Regions from separate parts of the Homo sapiens genome. Here region 2 is linked to region 1. The links are contacts of gene promoters, found by promoter capture Hi-C in human tissues and cell types (Jung and others, 2019). All regions are on one chromosome and are shown on one strand. The core of a region is centred on a gene start or on the middle of the fragment in contact, and the rest is flanking DNA. Distances in the headings are between cores, read along the strand shown.

What was found. Contacts are between HindIII fragments. The study calls those that stand out against the background at their distance.
Region 2: a contact is called between a fragment that was not itself captured here and the fragment with the promoter of TRAF4 in region 1, in 2 of the 25 tissues and cell types used here (mesenchymal stem cells and ovary).

Annotation. Positions count from the first base shown.
Region 1 is chr17:28,742,687-28,746,006 of GRCh38, reverse strand. It overlaps TRAF4 (TNF receptor associated factor 4), which reads right to left and starts at 1,996. Exons shown (of 7, transcript NM_004295.4): 1 at 1,752-1,996. The coding sequence starts at 1,894. NEK8 (NIMA related kinase 8) reads right to left here. Exons shown (of 15, transcript NM_178170.3): 15 at 2,552-3,320. RefSeq lists silencers at 1,518-1,717, 1,738-2,147, 2,602-2,896 and enhancers at 2,602-2,896, 1,920-2,920. The HindIII fragment of the contact is 18,595 bases long and covers 1-3,320 here.
Region 2 is chr17:28,786,880-28,790,463 of GRCh38, reverse strand. All of the region lies in intron 1 of FAM222B (family with sequence similarity 222 member B), which reads left to right. Among named protein-coding and RNA genes, the nearest start is that of TRAF4, 45 kb to the right of the region's middle. The HindIII fragment of the contact is 3,691 bases long and covers 1-3,498 here.

The DNA.
Region 1 (3,320 bases), core at 747-3,246:
TCTGCCCACAGGGCAACCAGCCTTCCTGGGCCAACCTAACAGCTCAGGCAGGAGTGGGGAAAGAGGGGTGGGCCCAGGGGGAGGGGGTCCACTTGGCTGCTTCAGGAATGTGCTGACTGAGTGGTTTTGGAGAAAGGGAGGGGACAGAGGCAAGTCCCTAGGCTTCAGGCAGAAGCTTAGCCTGCAGCTTGGGGCCCAGCCAGGGCTGTGGACACCCTCACTTGTGCTTGTACCGTGGCGGGTGAGGAGCAGGGACCACCCAACCACCTCTCTCCCCTTCAGAAGCCTCAGCAGCACAGCTCAGGCACTGGGGGATGGGGGACAGGCAGGGCAGAGGCTGCTCCAGGCTGTGCAGTGGAGGCCAAGGCCCAGGGAAGAAGACAGGATGGGGGGAGGGGGTGTGGGAGTGGGAGAGGAAGAGGGGATTTCCGGGAGGGGGAGTGGCAGAGAGGGGGGCCAAGAAGGTGGTGGAAGGAATCCGGCCTGACGGCCCCCTCCCCCGCTCCTTTCCCGAGGCAGTCAGGGTGGGTCAGCTGTGGGGGGGTCGGGGGGCTCAGCTGGCCTCATCTGGAACCCAGAGGGCCGGGGAAGAGCAGTGGCGGAGACAATGGGGCTGTGTCTGTAGGAGAGTAAATGTGTACACTGCCGAGGGGGAGGGGGCAGTCCTGCAGCTTGTGCCGGAGCATATGTGAGGGCAGGAGCCGGCCCAGGCTGTGGGGAACAGAAAACAAAGGGCCTGCTGAGATTTCCGCCAGTAGGAGCTACGGAGGACCGAGCGAGGGAGGGAGGCACGGCGGGAGGGAGCACCGGAGGCAGGCGTCTCAGAGGTACTATCCCTGCCAGGCCCTCGATCCCCTCGTCCCAGCAAACAGCCAGGCAGTGGCCGACTCGGCCTTCCCCTGCGCTCTGGGGGCATGACCTCCGAAGAGTCGGGGCTCCTTCACCCTGCTTCCCACACCCGGGCCTGAGGGGTTCCCTGCGTGAGCAGGAGATTCAAGACATACAGGGCGCCCAGAAACTTGATGGATGCCCAAGAGCCAAGGGCTAACCTGCGTCCTGAGAGGGCAGCGGGAGTTCAGTAACAACACGAGTGCGACCCCCTTCTTCATGACTTATGGACCACCCGCCTTACTCCAGCCCCCGGGAGAGAGGGGAGCCGCCTAGAGGGGTCCTTCTTCGGGGGAGGATTCAGTCCTTCCTCCATTGTGTGATCATAAGCAGTCCGGGTTTAAATCCTAGTTAAGCCTTTAAGTAACTATGTGACCCTGGGCAAGTCGCAGCCTTTCTTTGAATCTCGTTTCATGATCTGTGAAATGGGAGAACAATAGCTACCGTTCTCTGAACGTTCGAAGAATCAGAAGAGGTTAGATGGGGGAAAGCTCCGGAGGCTCAAACTGCCACGCGGGAGCGGGTTTTGTCCTCTTCCCCCAGGATTCAAAGTTCAAGGCTGAGGCCGCGCCGGCTCTCAGGTGACGGGGAAGGGCCTCTTCCCCTCCTGACCCCACGAGAAGGCGCCGAGGTCTTCCGCCCCGGGCCGGGCAGTTGGGACCCGCCCGGACCCCTCGGATTCCTGCGGGGGGGGCCTCCCTCGGGGCTTGACGTCATCCCTCCCCGTGACGTCACGGGGCGCCCCTGAGGTCACAGGGTCGCAGCGCAGACAAAGGCCCGCCTTGCCCCGGGCCCGAGACCCTCCCCAGGCGGCGCCCCCCGCCCCGCCCCGCCCCCGCTGTCCCCTGCTCCCCGGCCAGCACCTGAGGAACTCCTGCAGGCAGGTATCGCAGAAACGGTGGCCGCAGGTGGAAACCTGCACAGGCTCGCGCATGGGCTTCCCGCACAGTGGGCACAGCAGCCGTCGCTTGGGCTTCTCCAGGAACTTGTAGTCGAAGCCAGGCATGGCGGGCGAGCGGCCGGCACGGGCGAGCGGGGCCAGGCACGCGGCGGCCCCACAGCCCGCGCCTCGCTGGAGCGGCGCTCCCGGCTCCGGGCGGCGCCGACTGGCGGTCGCGGCCAGGGCTCGGCTGTGAAGCCCGCCCTCCGGAAGAGAGGGCGGACCGCGGCCGCGCGGTCCTAATGCGCGCCCTCGCGGCCCCGCCCACCCCCGAGTGCATGGTTTTTGGGTCTGGTGACCGCCAGTCTCGCCCACCCACGGGATCATGGGCTTTTCTTTCCCCTGGGGGACAGAGATCGTGGCTCCGCTTCTCCCCAGAGCCCGCGGGCCCCGGGGAAGTGCGGGTCGGAAAAGGGGACGGGCCGCGCCACAAAGGTTTTCTTCTCCAGAGGCAACAGCTCGGCCTCCGGGGCCGTGAGCAGCCCAGGAACCGTGGCCCCAGCTTCCAGGTGCTAGGCAGCCGAAGCCTGGCAACCAGCTCCGGGGAGCCCAGCTGGGGCGGGGAGGCTGGACTGGGCGCTGGGCCAGAGGAACCTCGGCCCCAGCCTCCGGCTGCGCCCACATTCCTCCCTTGGCCGCAGCCCTGCCACCGAGGTCGGGCCCAGCCCAGTCCTGGGGTGCCTGGTCGCCACCCCCACCCTTGAAGACACCACACTCCAGGCAGGCAGCTGATATTTTTATTGGCCTTCCTGTCCTCTGGGAAACCGGTCTGGTCCCACCAGCTACCCATTCTCTCAACTGTTTCTGGGGAAAGGCATGGGGGGGACGGGCAATCTCCAGCGCGGATCTTTTCTGCAGCACTTAGTGACTCCTGCCCTCCTGCTGGGGAAGAGAGGCAAGCCGACGTCTAGCAAATCCTGCCTCAGGATGAAAGTGTAGGGGAGGTGGCAGCACTCCCGGGGACCGCCCAGCCCCGGGCTATGCAGAAGCTAGGCAGGCCTAATGGCCAGTCCAGGCAGGCCCTGGCTTGCCCTGCTCCAAAGTATGGAGATAGAGTCCCGGTAAGCACCAAATACTTTTTTTTTTTTTTTTTTTTTTTTTTTTTTGAGAGGGAGACTTGCTCTGTCATCCAGGCTGGAGTGCAGTGGTGCGATCTCGGCTCACTGCAAACTTCACCTCCCGGGTTCAAGGGATTCTCTTGCCTTAGCCTCCAGAGTAGCTGGGATTACAGGCGCCCGTCACCATGCCTGGTTAATTTTTGTATTTTTAGTAGAGACGGGGTTTCACCATGTTGGCCAGGCTGGCCTCAGTCTACTGACCTCAAGTGATCCGCCCGCCTTGGCCTCCCAAAGTGCTGGAATTACAGGCGTGAGCCACCGCACCCAGCCTTATTTTCTTCTTTTTTTTTTTTTTTGGTGGAGACAGCGGTCTCGCTATGGTCCCCAGGCTGGTCTCCCAACTCCTGGCCACAAGGGATCAAGGGATCCTCCTG
Region 2 (3,584 bases), core at 404-2,903, 45 kb before region 1:
GTTCCTTGTGTTTAATTTAGGTAACATATCTTCAACAGGAATATCACAGGAGTGATGCTGTGTTCTTCACTGCATGATTTCAAAAGGTACAGAATTTTGATTTGTATCGTTACTGATAATGTTTGATCACTTGATTAAGGTGGTGTTTGCTAGGCTTTTCCTAAGTAAAGTTACTCATTTTCCCTTTGTAATTAGTATTTTTAGGAGACAGGGCTTAGAAACTATACAAATATTGCATTCCTTTTCAGCCTTCCAATGTATTTGTTTACATTAGTATGAACTAATGATTTCTTGTTTTATTCAATGAAATATCATCTTTTATTATTTATTTTGATGCTCAGATTATTCCCGATTTGGCCAGTAAATCAAGAAAAAAAATTATATAAATATATGTTTAATCATAAAAATGCCCAAATAATCTGCCATTCTTTTATTTCAATAGGTTGACAGATAAATACTCCCCAAACTAACACCTTACAGGCAATGGTAGAAAAGAAAAATTCACAACTGTTGTATTCTGGTAACATGCCTGCTTTACCCAGTGTACCCACTCAATGTCTTCTCTAATTTCTACTGTGTAAACTTCTGTCTCTGGGGTTTCCCTCACCAACTAAGCATCTTGTGCCTTCTTTGTCCTTTGATATTTCACTGTTATTCTTTGAGCACTTCCTTTCCTGCACAATAAGATATATTAGACTCATCTAGTACTTTCTCTGCCTCAGTCAATTCTCCAAGGAGCCTTGGTTCCTTTCAATGGAAAATGCAGTATTTAGAAACCAAGAGTAGGCCCTGTTGGGGCTCATTGCAATTGGGTGGGAGTGATCACTGCATCCAGTACTCTTCTCATTCTGTTTGGGTAGCTTCCATTTCTAATTCAATTGAAGTGACTTAATAGAACTGGGTAAAAGTTGATAAGGACACTGAGTTGGTAAGGGAGGTCCCAAAGAGAGAAGAAATTAAAGAGGACAGTGGGCCAGGCACAGTGGCTCACGCCTGTAACCCCAGGAATTTGGGGGGCCGAGGCAGGTGGATCGTTCAGGAGTTCAAGACCAGCCTGGCTAAGATGGTGAAACCCCGTGTGTACTAAGAATACAAAAAATTAGCTGTGCATGGTGGTGGGTGCCTGTAATCCCAGCTACTCATGAGGCTGAGACAGAGAGTTGCTTGAACCCAGGAGGTAGAGGTTGCAATGAGCTGAGATTCCGCCACTGCACACTCCAGCCTGCGTAACAGAGCGAGACTCCATCTCAAAAAAAAAAAAAAGGACACAGAATGAAGAAGATGTGTACCAGTAATAGAAGAATTTTGAACTTTTGTTTTCTACCACTATCCATAAGATTACTTGTCGGGGGGGTGTTAGTTTTTTTTTTTTTTTTTTTTTTTTGAGGTATCTTTGAGATAAAAGAAAGGCAAGGCCGGGCGCTGTGGCTTACATCTGTAATCCCAGCACTTTGGGAGGCCGAGGCAGGCAGGCAGATCACCTGAAATCAGGAGTTCAAGACCAGCCTGGCTAACATGGTGAAACCCCATCTCTACTAAACTAAAAATACAAAAATTAGGTGGGTGTGGTGGCGGGCATCTGTAATCCCAGCTACTCGGGAGGCTGAGGCAGGAGAATTGTTTGAACCTGGGAGGCAGTGGTTATAGTAAGCCAATATTGCATCACTGCGCTCCAGCCTGGATGACAGAGTGAGACTCTGACTCAAAAAACAAAAGTAAATTAATTTTAAAAGGGAGGGCAAATTACAATTATTTGGGCATCTTTAGAGTTACATGTATATTTATTGGATTTTTCCTCCCCGATTAACTCAATGCTAAAATAATGTTGACTTAAATGACTTGTTTGGTGGGACTTAATATGTAGTATAAGATGCATATTTGACAGGTTAGAAGCAGTCACACACTTTGATAAATAACAATACTGAGGCCGGACGCGGTGGCTCATGCCTGTAATCCCAGCACTTTGGGAGGCCGAGGCAGGCAGATTGCCTGAGCTCATGAGTTCCAGACCAGCCTGGGCAACATGGCAAAAACCTGTCTCTATAAAAAACAAAAAAATTAGCCACATGCAATGGTGTGCACCTATAATCCCAGCTACTCAGGAAGCTGAGGCAAGAAGATCCGTTAAGCCTAGAAGTTCAAGGTTGCAGTGAGCTATGATTGCACCACCATACTCCAGCCTGGATGACAGGGTGAGACCTTGTGTCAAAAACAAACAAAAAAGCAATTCTGAATGACTTTTGAATTTCTCAGGTCCACAGAAGGGAGCCAAATAATTCTGCTGATCATTGAGTGAGTTGTGGTACTTTCAACACTTTAGAGGTTTAAAGGACTGCTTTAGGCTGGGTGCGGTGGCTCACGCCTGTAATCCCAGCACTTTGGGAGGCCGAGGCGGGCGGATCACCTGAGGTTGGGAGTTCAAAACTAGCCTGACCAACATGGAGAAACCCCATCTCTACTAAAAATTCAAAATTAGCTGGGTGTGGTGGCACATTCCTGTAATCCTAGCCACTCGGGAGGCTGAGGCAGGAGAATTGCTTGAACCCAGGAGGTGGAGGTTGCGGTGAGCCAAGATCGTGCCATTGCACTCCAGCCTGCAACAAGAGCGAAACTCCGTCTCAAAAAAAAAAAAAAAAAGACTACTTTATTAGTTTTTTATTTGTTTTGCAGACAGTTCCTGAAATGAGGAAGCTTCCTAAAGTGAATTTCAGAATCTTTATCTGTGTGTTTACCCTAGCTATGAAAGTATTATTCTAACAGGGACTGTATATCTGTTTTTCCTTCCTGTAGATTGACCCAGCATTGCAAATTTCATTAGCTAGTTGTGGTCTGCCAGGTGTGGAAGGGGGTGCTCCACCTCTTCCTTTAAGCTTTCAATTCTCGGGCCCCTTTAAGCTTAGCAGCCTCTTGAGCTTTCAGAGACCCTTTAGCTTCAGAAACCTGCTAATTCCTTGGACATGTGGAGCGTGAACCATAAATCTTCAAGTTATAGTGAGTCTCAGTGACAAGCAATGTAAGTGCTTTGATTTTCACTAAGGCTATATAGAAGCCTTTGACAAAGGTTATTACATATCAGGATTCCTCATGGTCCATACTCAGGCTGGGGGAGGAGAAGGAAGGGCCTAAAGGGAATAGAATGCATTAATGTATCAAACTTGTCTTTCTGTATTACCTTATAATCTGCCTTGGCAAGATTGGGAAACTAGCCCTAGATAACAGAAGAATAGAAGATACAGTGGGGGCTGGGCATGGTGGCTCACGCCTGTAATCCCAGCACTTTGGGAGGCCGAGGAGGGTGGATCACGAGGTCAGGAGATCATACCATCCTGGCTAACATGGTGAAACCCCGTCTCTACTAAAAATACAAAAAAATTAGCTGGGCGTGGTTGCGGGCGCCTGTAGTCTCAACTACTCAGGAGGCTGAGGCAGGAGAATGGCGTGAACCCAGGAGGTGGAGGTTGCCGTGAGCGGAGATCGCACCACTGCACTCGAGATCGCGCCACTGCACTCCAGGCTGGGCGACAGAGCGAGACTCTGTCTCAAAAAAAAAAAAAAAAAAAAAAAAAAAATACAGTGAAGGGCAG